Regions from separate parts of the Homo sapiens genome. Here region 2 is linked to region 1. The links are contacts of gene promoters, found by promoter capture Hi-C in human tissues and cell types (Jung and others, 2019). All regions are on one chromosome and are shown on one strand. Each heading gives the region's core, a stretch centred on a gene start or on the middle of the fragment in contact. The rest is flanking DNA. Distances are from core to core; before and after follow the strand shown.

Evidence for each region. Contacts are between HindIII fragments. The study calls those that stand out against the background at their distance.
Region 2: a fragment that was not itself captured here is called in contact with the fragment with the promoter of HS3ST3A1 in region 1 in 1 of the 25 tissues and cell types used here (mesenchymal stem cells).

The regions. Positions count from the first base shown.
Region 1 is chr17:13,598,736-13,603,776 of GRCh38, reverse strand. It overlaps HS3ST3A1 (heparan sulfate-glucosamine 3-sulfotransferase 3A1), which reads left to right and starts at 1,848. Exons shown (of 2, transcript NM_006042.3): 1 at 1,848-3,246. The coding sequence starts at 2,648. RefSeq lists a silencer at 1,131-1,425 and an enhancer at 2,274-2,894. The HindIII fragment of the contact is 10,594 bases long and covers 1-5,041 here.
Region 2 is chr17:13,963,352-13,967,919 of GRCh38, reverse strand. No RefSeq gene overlaps it. Among named protein-coding and RNA genes, the nearest start is that of COX10-DT, 100 kb to the left of the region's middle. The HindIII fragment of the contact is 3,117 bases long and covers 1-2,833 here.

The DNA of each region.
Region 1 (5,041 bases), core at 599-3,098:
GAAGGGAACTTCGAGTCCATCATTTTCCAGTCCAGGAAACTGGGGCATGTTTATAAGCATTCACGGGACTGCATGCCTTCAAAACAACTTAAAAATGGTCTTTGTTTTGTTGTCTTCCTTCTGCAAATCTGACTGAAGTACTTAGGGAAAAAATGTGAAAACACAGGAAAGTTTAAGTTAGCATTAGATCTCAACTGGTTTGTCAATATCCAATTTTAGAACACAAAAGGACATTACAGCTTGGCAGGGCTTGTCCATCCTCGTAAACGCCCAGCGCTTTACGGCATCAGAATCTAAAAAGCTCTTCACTGGTTGTCGAATCAGTTGGGATTGGTAGTTCATAAACATAAAACCATAAACCATATCCAGCAGTGAGTATTTATCTAGCAGGGCACAAATTCATGGATCCATGCAAGCCCAGAGTTAGAACCACTAGGTGCCCCTTGGAAGCTGAAAAAGTGGAAGCTGACTTCCACTTCCGTGGTCAAATAGAGCACAGAAAGGCTGCGAAGTTCCTGCATGGGGACGCAGAAATGCCTGGTAAGTTTCCTGCACCGTGGACCTTGAGCCTGCGGTGGGCCCTTGTTAGCACCCGCAGAGGTCCCAGAAAGCTGCCTCCACAGCTTGCAGGGGCTGGTAAGAAGCTCCCAAGCTACCGCCCACATGGTGAGGCAACCTGTGGAGGCAAGGAAGCCAAAAAATAAGGAACAAATAGGATTAGAACAAAAAACCACCTCATGCAGCTTCCACGGGCCACCTCCCTCCATTAGACAGCAAGGCGGTTTGTATCCCTTCCTGACCTGCTCTCCGGGGAGCGCACGAAGAGGATATAGGGTCAGGGGAGGCAAGGGAAAGAGGAAACCGCAGTTTATGAAAGGACATTTAACCTCTTTGCGAGCGTGCATGCGCGCGCGCGCACACACACACACACACACACACACACACAAAAGTACAAACAACATTAAGGAAATACACACTACATTAAAAATTGGGCATAGGGACTTGGAATCGGAGTTGAATTTTTTTTAAATTTTAATTTTGCCTTTGATTTATGCATTGGTTTTTTTTTTTTTCGTAAGAGGTTGTTCCTTTCTAGGCCCTGGAGGACTGTATCATCTTATACAAATCCAAGGGAAAACAATCAAAATAAGAAAAGAAAAGAAAACAAACAAACAAAAAACAGACTGATACGAGAAAGAGCTTTGCTCCAAGACCCGCAGCAGACAGTTGAGTAGGTAGAAGTCCAAGCTGCTGCAGAGGAATTCGGTTTGCTCCAGACAAACGGGGGCGTGGCGTGCAGCGCAGTACTGGGAACTGCTGCAAACAAAACTTCCAAGGGGACGAGGAGTAGGTTCCAGGCGATGGAAAGCAGTGGGATGGGGAAGGATAGGGCAACAGTGCCAAGAGGGGAGCAGAGCGCGGGGAACCTGGAGAGGGAGGGTCAGGGCTGCGGAGGGCTGAGCTGCGGTGGAGAGCTCTGGGGCCCCTCACCAAGCTAGTGGCGTCTTGGGTGGAAGTCAGGCCCCCAGAGATCCGGCCGGCCTTAGCTGTCACTCAGGCAACCCCGGAGCCGCCGCAGACACCGGATCCACTGGAAGGGGGCGAAGCCGCGGGGAGGAATGGGGGACACTGGGGAAGGGGCGTCGCCCCTGCCGCCCCCGCCCTCTCCAGTGCCATTGGGCGGCTGCTGCGGAGCCCGCGCCACCTTTTCTCCATCCCACCCCGCCCGTCTGGCCCCGCCTGGCCGCTGGTCCGCGCCCCGCTGCGCTCGTCCGGGGGCTGGTCCGGCCCGGGCCTTTGACGTCACCAGCAAGTTTGCTGCCCTCGGCGTCCCACGTGTGGCGGCGGCCAGCGGCGGCCCAGGAGGCAGCCGGTGAGCGCCTGCGAGCAGAGTGGCGGGGGCCGCTGACAGGTCCCGCGCAGCCCAGCCCAGCCCAGCCACGCGGCTCACAGGTGGGGTCCAAGAGCAGTTTGGAGCAACCCGGCGCTACGGAGAGGGGTGGACGGCTCTGCACGGGCCTCCTGTCTCCCGCTCGGGCAGAGGGACTCGGGGGGACCTCGCTCCTTGGCTGAGAGAACCTGAACTCGGGCGGAGAGAACGCGCCCAGGCGGGCAAGGGGACCAGAGAAAGCCGGGGCTGGAAGTCACTGTCGCTCGCCACTGTCTGGAGCGCACGGAGCGCAGAGGCCCGGCAGCCGCGCGTGCCCTCACGGGGACCGAGCCAGTGATGCAGGATCGCTGAGCGGAGATCCGCGCCGAGAAGTCTCTCGGGGCCGGGGCTGAGACGCACGCCTTCGACACCGCTGCCAAGACCCCGATTCCGGCGACTCTTGCGGGGAACCGAGGGGCCAAGGCTGCCCCAAGCTCAGGACTTGGGCGAGTCTAAGACGATGGTTTCTTAAGCACGGACCCGCGTTCCCCTTCCCGCTCCCTCGACTGGAGGCAGGGATCCTGCGCGGGGCCCCCGGGATTCCGTTTCCCCGCGGAGCCCCGGCCGCTGCCTCCCGGGACAGTTCGCACGGCCACAGGGGCGCACGGCGATGTGGCCTCCGTCCAGCGCGCTGGCCCGCCGGGGGGATGCTCTGGCACCTGTCGGGGTCCAGGCCTAGCATGGCCGGCGCGTTGCCCGACGTCGCCTCCGGCTAGGATGGCCCCTCCGGGCCCGGCCAGTGCCCTCTCCACCTCGGCCGAGCCGCTGTCCCGCAGCATCTTCCGGAAGTTCTTGCTGATGCTCTGCTCCCTGCTCACGTCCCTTTACGTCTTCTACTGCCTGGCCGAGCGCTGCCAGACCCTGTCCGGCCCCGTCGTGGGGCTGTCCGGCGGCGGCGAGGAGGCGGGGGCCCCTGGTGGCGGCGTCCTGGCCGGAGGCCCGAGGGAGCTGGCGGTGTGGCCGGCGGCGGCACAGAGAAAGCGCCTCCTGCAACTGCCGCAGTGGCGGAGGCGCCGGCCGCCCGCGCCCCGCGACGACGGCGAGGAGGCGGCCTGGGAAGAAGAGTCCCCTGGCCTGTCAGGGGGTCCGGGCGGCTCCGGGGCCGGAAGCACCGTGGCCGAGGCCCCGCCGGGGACCCTGGCGCTGCTCCTGGACGAAGGCAGCAAGCAGCTGCCGCAGGCCATCATCATCGGAGTGAAGAAGGGCGGCACGCGGGCGCTGCTGGAGTTCCTGCGCGTGCACCCCGACGTGCGCGCCGTGGGCGCCGAGCCCCACTTCTTCGACCGCAGCTACGACAAGGGCCTCGCCTGGTACCGGTGAGCGGGGCGGGCCCGGGCTGGGGCTGAAGGATCCGGGGGTCCTGGGCTGGGAAAGACGTGGAGGAGCCCTCGGTGACCCCCAGTTCGCCCTCCTCCCCACTTCATGCAGAAGGCGAAGGGTCGTCAAGGGTCTTTCTTCCCTCTCCGCCTTCTCCTTCCTGGGAAGTGGATGTTGAAGGAGAGAGTGGGAGGGAAATTCTGGCCTTCATAATTTTCATCCTTGGGAATCCCTTGCCAGCAAATAGCCAGTCTGGTCTCTTTCTCCTGCTCTGCGAAAGTATTCATGTATTTAACTAAAGGAAAAAAAAAAAGTCTCTTCTAAATTAGAAACCTGTTCAACAATTAATAGATTGCCTTCTCCTTCCCAAGGAAGCCCGTTTTCATTCTTTATCTTTTGGAAAGTTCTTTGTGGTTAACACAGTCTTTACCATCAGGTATTTATTTACCTTGACCTTTTGCCAGATAGTTGTCCTAGGTGGGAAGTAATATAGAGACTTAGTAAAAGTGTCAAGAACCAGAGAATCTGGGTAGTTTGGAAAATATATGTCTGTCTGAGCAAGGGAAAGCAACCAGGCACTGTATTTTAAAGGACGCTTGGCAATAACTTTTGTTTGAGGGCAAGGAATGAGTTTTGTAAAGTGCTTTTGATATTTGCAGGGAAAAGTAACTTTTGTCTTTTGACTGACAGAAACTTTTCTAAAGATCTTCAATCCTCTTTACAAATAAGGTAGCCAATTAAAAGAAGAAGACAACAGAGAGAAAAATACATTGGCACAACTTTGCCAATACAGTTTAGGAAATAAGTCTGGCTTAGATCTTAATCTTAAATTTGCCAGTCTCTTCAAATTCAGACCACCTTTAATAATAAAATCAGCCAGATTCTAATAAAGCTAGTGTCGCCTGGATTTTGTTTGCCATAATATATTGGCTTTTTTTTTCTTTCTTCAAAGTACCAGTAAAAATTATGTTGCTAGAATTTTCCATTTTATAAAGTTTATCTTGTTCATAAAAGATGCATTCTCTTTGTTATTTTAACTGAAACAGTTACAAAAATTACAACATAATTTAGGTATTTTCAAAAAGCCCATTAAATTAATCATTCATCCCCAACACAGAAATGGATATGATTTGACAAGTTTATTTACTTGAGGGGCCAATTGCAGTCTCAGATTGATTTCAGGAGCCGAATTTACAGTCAATCCACTCAGAGAGAAAAGATTTGGCCCTAAAAATAGAATTTGAACATTAAACACTTTTAAAACAGTAACTTTCCATTTGTTGGAAAGAAAAAACAAACAACCTTCCCTTAATATAGATGATATATCATTTAAAATCATCAGCCACTTAAAATATCCCCTTGTGTTTCTGTCATTTATGTTGTATCCTCTGGGAAGTTCTTATAAAAATGACCTGTTGAATCTGGAAACAACAGGTCCTTCTTTTTAGCACAAAGGCAGCTCTGTTTTTTCCATCAAGGACACGAGAAAGAAGTGATTAAAGACCCCTAAAACTCTTATCTATAGCAGTTTGCATTGAATTCGGCCTCGTACTGTGCTGTAAGCGAACACATTTCAAGCTGACTGTCTGAAACATCTAACACTATGTTGGGCTCTGAGGTGCTATTAAATATGGTGAAATATTTAGTACTAAAACCCTTTATTTTCCTTTTGCCATATAAACTTTATTTCCACAAAGTAGGATTGTTTCTTCTTATTCCAGAAATGAGTATTTGAGGGCACGGTGTATCTGCAGACCTGGATCTTATTTTCCATGGACCTTTCTGAGCTCCTGT
Region 2 (4,568 bases), core at 26-2,525, 360 kb before region 1:
AGCTTTAGGGATACAAGCTTCTGAACATTGGGGATACAAGTGGCTGAGTGGTGGAGACTAAGGATAGAAGCGGCTAACTTCAGATGGTGTGGCCCCAGGGAAAGATCTTCTTTCCACACCATACCCTTTCCCACTCCCATCCCACTGAGAACCATTACCCAATAAAATCTTCCACATACGCTACACTACCCTTCAATACGTTCATGTGACCTAATTTTTCCTGGATGCTGGACAAGAACCCAGGTGCCAAGAGGGCAGAGGCTTGGACGCTGCTGCGGGCCACACACACACAGAGCCTGCTCCCACCAGAGAGGAGTGACTGGACAGATCCAGCGTTTGTTACCTCTGGTTCCCACAATCACTTGCTCTCAATGTTCCCTCTCGTTGGGAGTGGCCAGAGGCGGACTGACTGAAAAGAGCCACTCCAGTTTCTGCCCACAAAGGAGGCCAAGGGAACAATCCCATCTCATCTAGGGGCCCATCTGGGATACAACAGATGGTTAGTTAACATGCGGGCCTGTCGGATCTGCCTTTTTTTCAAGACCCTGCCACCTCTCTCTTTCCACCTGGTAAAAGGAATATTGGCTCTTTTTCCCTTTATGGAGGTCTAGCTGGTCTGAAGTGGGGAAGGGATACAGTGATTAAAGGAACCCATTTCCACAGAGCAGAGGCTCTTCCTTCAACCCCACCCACTGCCCTTATGCCCTTTAAGTTGTTTTTCTGTTTTTCTAAGGGAGAGGGTTCTCTTCCTACCTCAGCACTCTGCTTATGATAGGAAAATGACAGAGGAGGAAACCTTCGTGGCTGGTAGCTGTAAATTTGCCAAAGCCTGTGGGACTTAATCTAAGTGAATCTCTGCAGCCCTTCAAATACCCTTTTTTAATCTCAAACTTGATTCCAAGCTTCAGGTTGAGGCCCTGGAAAGGAAAACGAGATCTGAGGGATCCAAAGCCAGGCAACATGCGCAATGTAAATGGGCAGGATCAATTCCTGCCAACAAAAACCCTGCTTCATGGAAGAAGGCCATGCTCCATGGCATAGGTGAGAACCAGGGAACTTAAAGCTGTTGACAGCAGGGGAGATAGGGTGTATGTGGATAAGAGCGGGTACTCCCACCCGCTAGGCCCCCCTGCTTCATCGGTGCAAGCCGCTTTGGCACCCATGGGTGGCACCTGCCAAGGTCACTGGGACTCGGGGATGGAGATAGAAAAGAAAAGGGGGGAACACCCTCTTTCTTTCTCCCTCACACCCCAAGTTTTTGCTAAAAGAAGGAAGGGAATGAGGGATGCCCCAAATTGCCTGTCTTTCAGAATGGACAACCAACAAACTTTATCATCTCCAGTTTCTACTCAGAAACAGACCCTGGGTCTAGATAGTACTTTAGAGGATCTCCTGAAAGTGGCCACCTTGGTCTTTTAGATATAAGAAAGAGGCAGAAGCTTTAATGACCACCGTGCAAGCCCATGAACCCCAGAATTCCTAACGTTCACCTGTTAACCACTACAGATGTGGCAAGAACAGTTCTCTCTCTCAAAGTGTAACCACTCCCATACAAGATTTAATTTTTTTCACCGGGGTGAGACAGCTTGGGGTACAATCTTGTTAGTATATTTCACTTCTTATTTCTGTAATCTTTGGCAATAAATTCTTTCCTTGCATAATGCACGTTTGATCCATGCATATTTAACCTTGTAAAGCTTGTTTTTTTCTCTCTCCTGGAGGCCATCAGGGCTCCAAATAGGCAGGCAGCCAGAGCCTCGGACGATGGCTCCCTTTTGCCGGGGATCCTTAGGTAAATCTCTGGGAGGAATCTGATTGCCATTTTCTGCAAACAGTGTCCCCTTTCAGCAGGAAGTAGCTAAGACCGGTCGTTGTCCATATTCTAAAGGCACTTAGATGTGCCTCTTCAGAGCGGGGAGATGATATAGAATGACTGGGCTCCAGGCTCCCCACTAGACCCCACCCCTAAGCCTAGAACCACCACCCTAAGTGCAAAAAAGCTGACCCCATTTGTCTGCCCAAATGTTGCTTTTCTGGCCTGCCGTGCCCCTATCCTGTGCCCATGAAAAGACTTCAGCTGGCAGAGCAACACAGTGGCTGATGCAAATAGTCAATGCAAGCGGTTGGGGATGCAAGCAGCTGGGCATTGGGGATCCAAGCTGCTGAACGTCGGGGATATGAGTGGCTGAGTGTTGCAGACTATGGATAGACGTGGATAACTTCAGAGGTGTGGCTTAGGGAAAGATCGTCTTCTTTCTGCACCATCGCCTTTCCAACTCCCATCCTGATGACAGCCATCACCCAATAAAATCCTCCACATACACTACCCTTCAATCCATTTGCACAACCTGATTTTTTCTGGACACCGGACAAGAACCTAGGTGTTGGGAGAGCAGGGACTTGGACGCTGCTGCAGGGCGGCACAGAGCCTGCTCCCACCAGAGAGGAGCGACTGGCTGGTTTCAGCCTTCATTCCCTCTAGTTCCTGGACTTGCTTGCTTGCCTGCTCCCTCTTGCCTGGAGTGGCCAGAGGCCGGCTGAGTGAAAGGAGCCACTCCAATTTCTACCCATGAAGGGGGTCAAGGGAACAATCCCATCTCAGTACGAGGAAGGAAACCTTAGGATTCTTCACTCCCCAAGCCCACGATTTAAAAGTTGGCACTGAGAAGCAGAAAGGGAATTTATTCCAATAAGTGCAGTAGAGGCTTATTTCTTTCCCTTCTGTAGAAAAAGTAGAAGAGAAAGCTTTTGCGTTGTGGCTGCTTTGGTGCAGAGTGGGCAGAGCCAGAGGAGCTGTGAGAATCTCCCAAGTATCACTGGTTATCACCTGGGACTGTCACGCCAACAGGCAAGCCTGGATCCATCCTCTGTTTACCCTCACCCCTAGGCTTTGTGTTTTCATAACTGTGAGGTCTCCAAGCTTAACAAGGCTCTCAGTGCTGACAGGTCATTCTTCTCCATTCCTAAGTTATCTTTTTCCTCCAAAACTTACTGTAGCGATTTCAAATCCTTTAGTTTTTTGATACTTCCAACTATGTCTATAAAAACATGCTCACCCACGCTGGTCCACAGATATATTATCCTCCTGCCTTGTTGTCATAAGGGAACGGGCATCTTTCTCAGATGTGGGTCTAATATCTGCATCTGTGCTCTGCCTGACATTTCTTCCTCTGGATCTTCCACCCAACCCTTGACTGGCTTCTTTCTGTCCATATTTAAATATGCTTGAGATTTTCAAATCTTTATAAAAGTTTCTCTCTATTGCATGTCTTATGGTCCCCAAAGATCTGTTTTGAGAGTTATCTGTAATCTTTACTTGTTATCTTTACTTTCTCACTTTTTTCTTGTACTTCTACTCGTTGAAATCTGACTTTTACTCCTGCCCTTGCAAGGGTCATCCTACTTGTAGCTCATGTTAAGGAACACTTCTAAGTCCTTAGGCAAGAAATCCCCTCTGGGCAGCATTTGGCACTGTTGACAAGGTTCTCCTTATTAAAACACTTTTATCTCGGTGTCTGTGACACTGTGCTTTTCTGGTTTTTCTCCAATTTAATCAGATCAGATTGTTTCTTCTCAATCTCCTTTTTTTTCTGTTATTGTTTTCTTTCTGCCCAACCCTTAGATACTGGTGTTCTTAAGAGGGCTCCTTCTTTCTCACTCAACACATTTTCTCTCAGATGATCTGTAACAACAAACTATTTGCTGATGACTGCCATTTATTTGTTTAACAAGTATTTATTGAAATGGAAACAAATCATAAGAAGAATAAACAAATTCAAATGCTGGTTCATTGAAAAGACCAACAATATAAATCAACTTCTTGTGAGTTTGACTACTTAAAAAGAAAGAATGAGAGTAAAAATATACAATATTGAAAATAAGAAAGGAGATATTTTCACAGATATAGAAAAAATTAAAATGTTCATAAAAACCCCACATCCAACTCCTATGGCAATACTTTTTCTAGGATTTTCTAAAATCCTAGAAAAAGGGATTATTTCTTAACAAAACATAATTCACCAAACTGTACTCAAGAAGTAGGAAGTTCGAATAGGTCAATTTTCAGTAAGAGTTTGGAAAAATTAGAGGCACCATTGGAAAAGGGACTGAGAGAATAATATTCCTCTTTACTAGTTTACTTTTTTGGCAAGGGAAAGGGGAGGATGAAGGCTAGTAGAAAGTGGGGTGTGGTCAATAAATCTAACAGAGGAAGAGGTCAGAGAAAGATGACTGAGAGTTTCCCTGTTCAGCATGTAGACTTTTTCTTAAAACTCCTGGTACCTCCCTAGAGCAGGTGTCTATAAACTATGGGCAAGTGACCAAATCCAGCCCACCATCTTTTTTGTAAAGGTTTTGTGATACACAGCAACACCCATTTGTTTAAGTGTTGTCTATGGCTGCTTTGGCGATACAATTTCAGAACTGAATAGTTACAGCAGAGACCAGATCGCTCATAAGACCTAAAATATTTGCTATCTGGATCTTCACAGAAAAAGTTTGCTGACTCCTGCCCTAGACCTCATCTCTATCTGTTTCTATGTCTGGTGACACCAAGTGCAAAGGTTCTG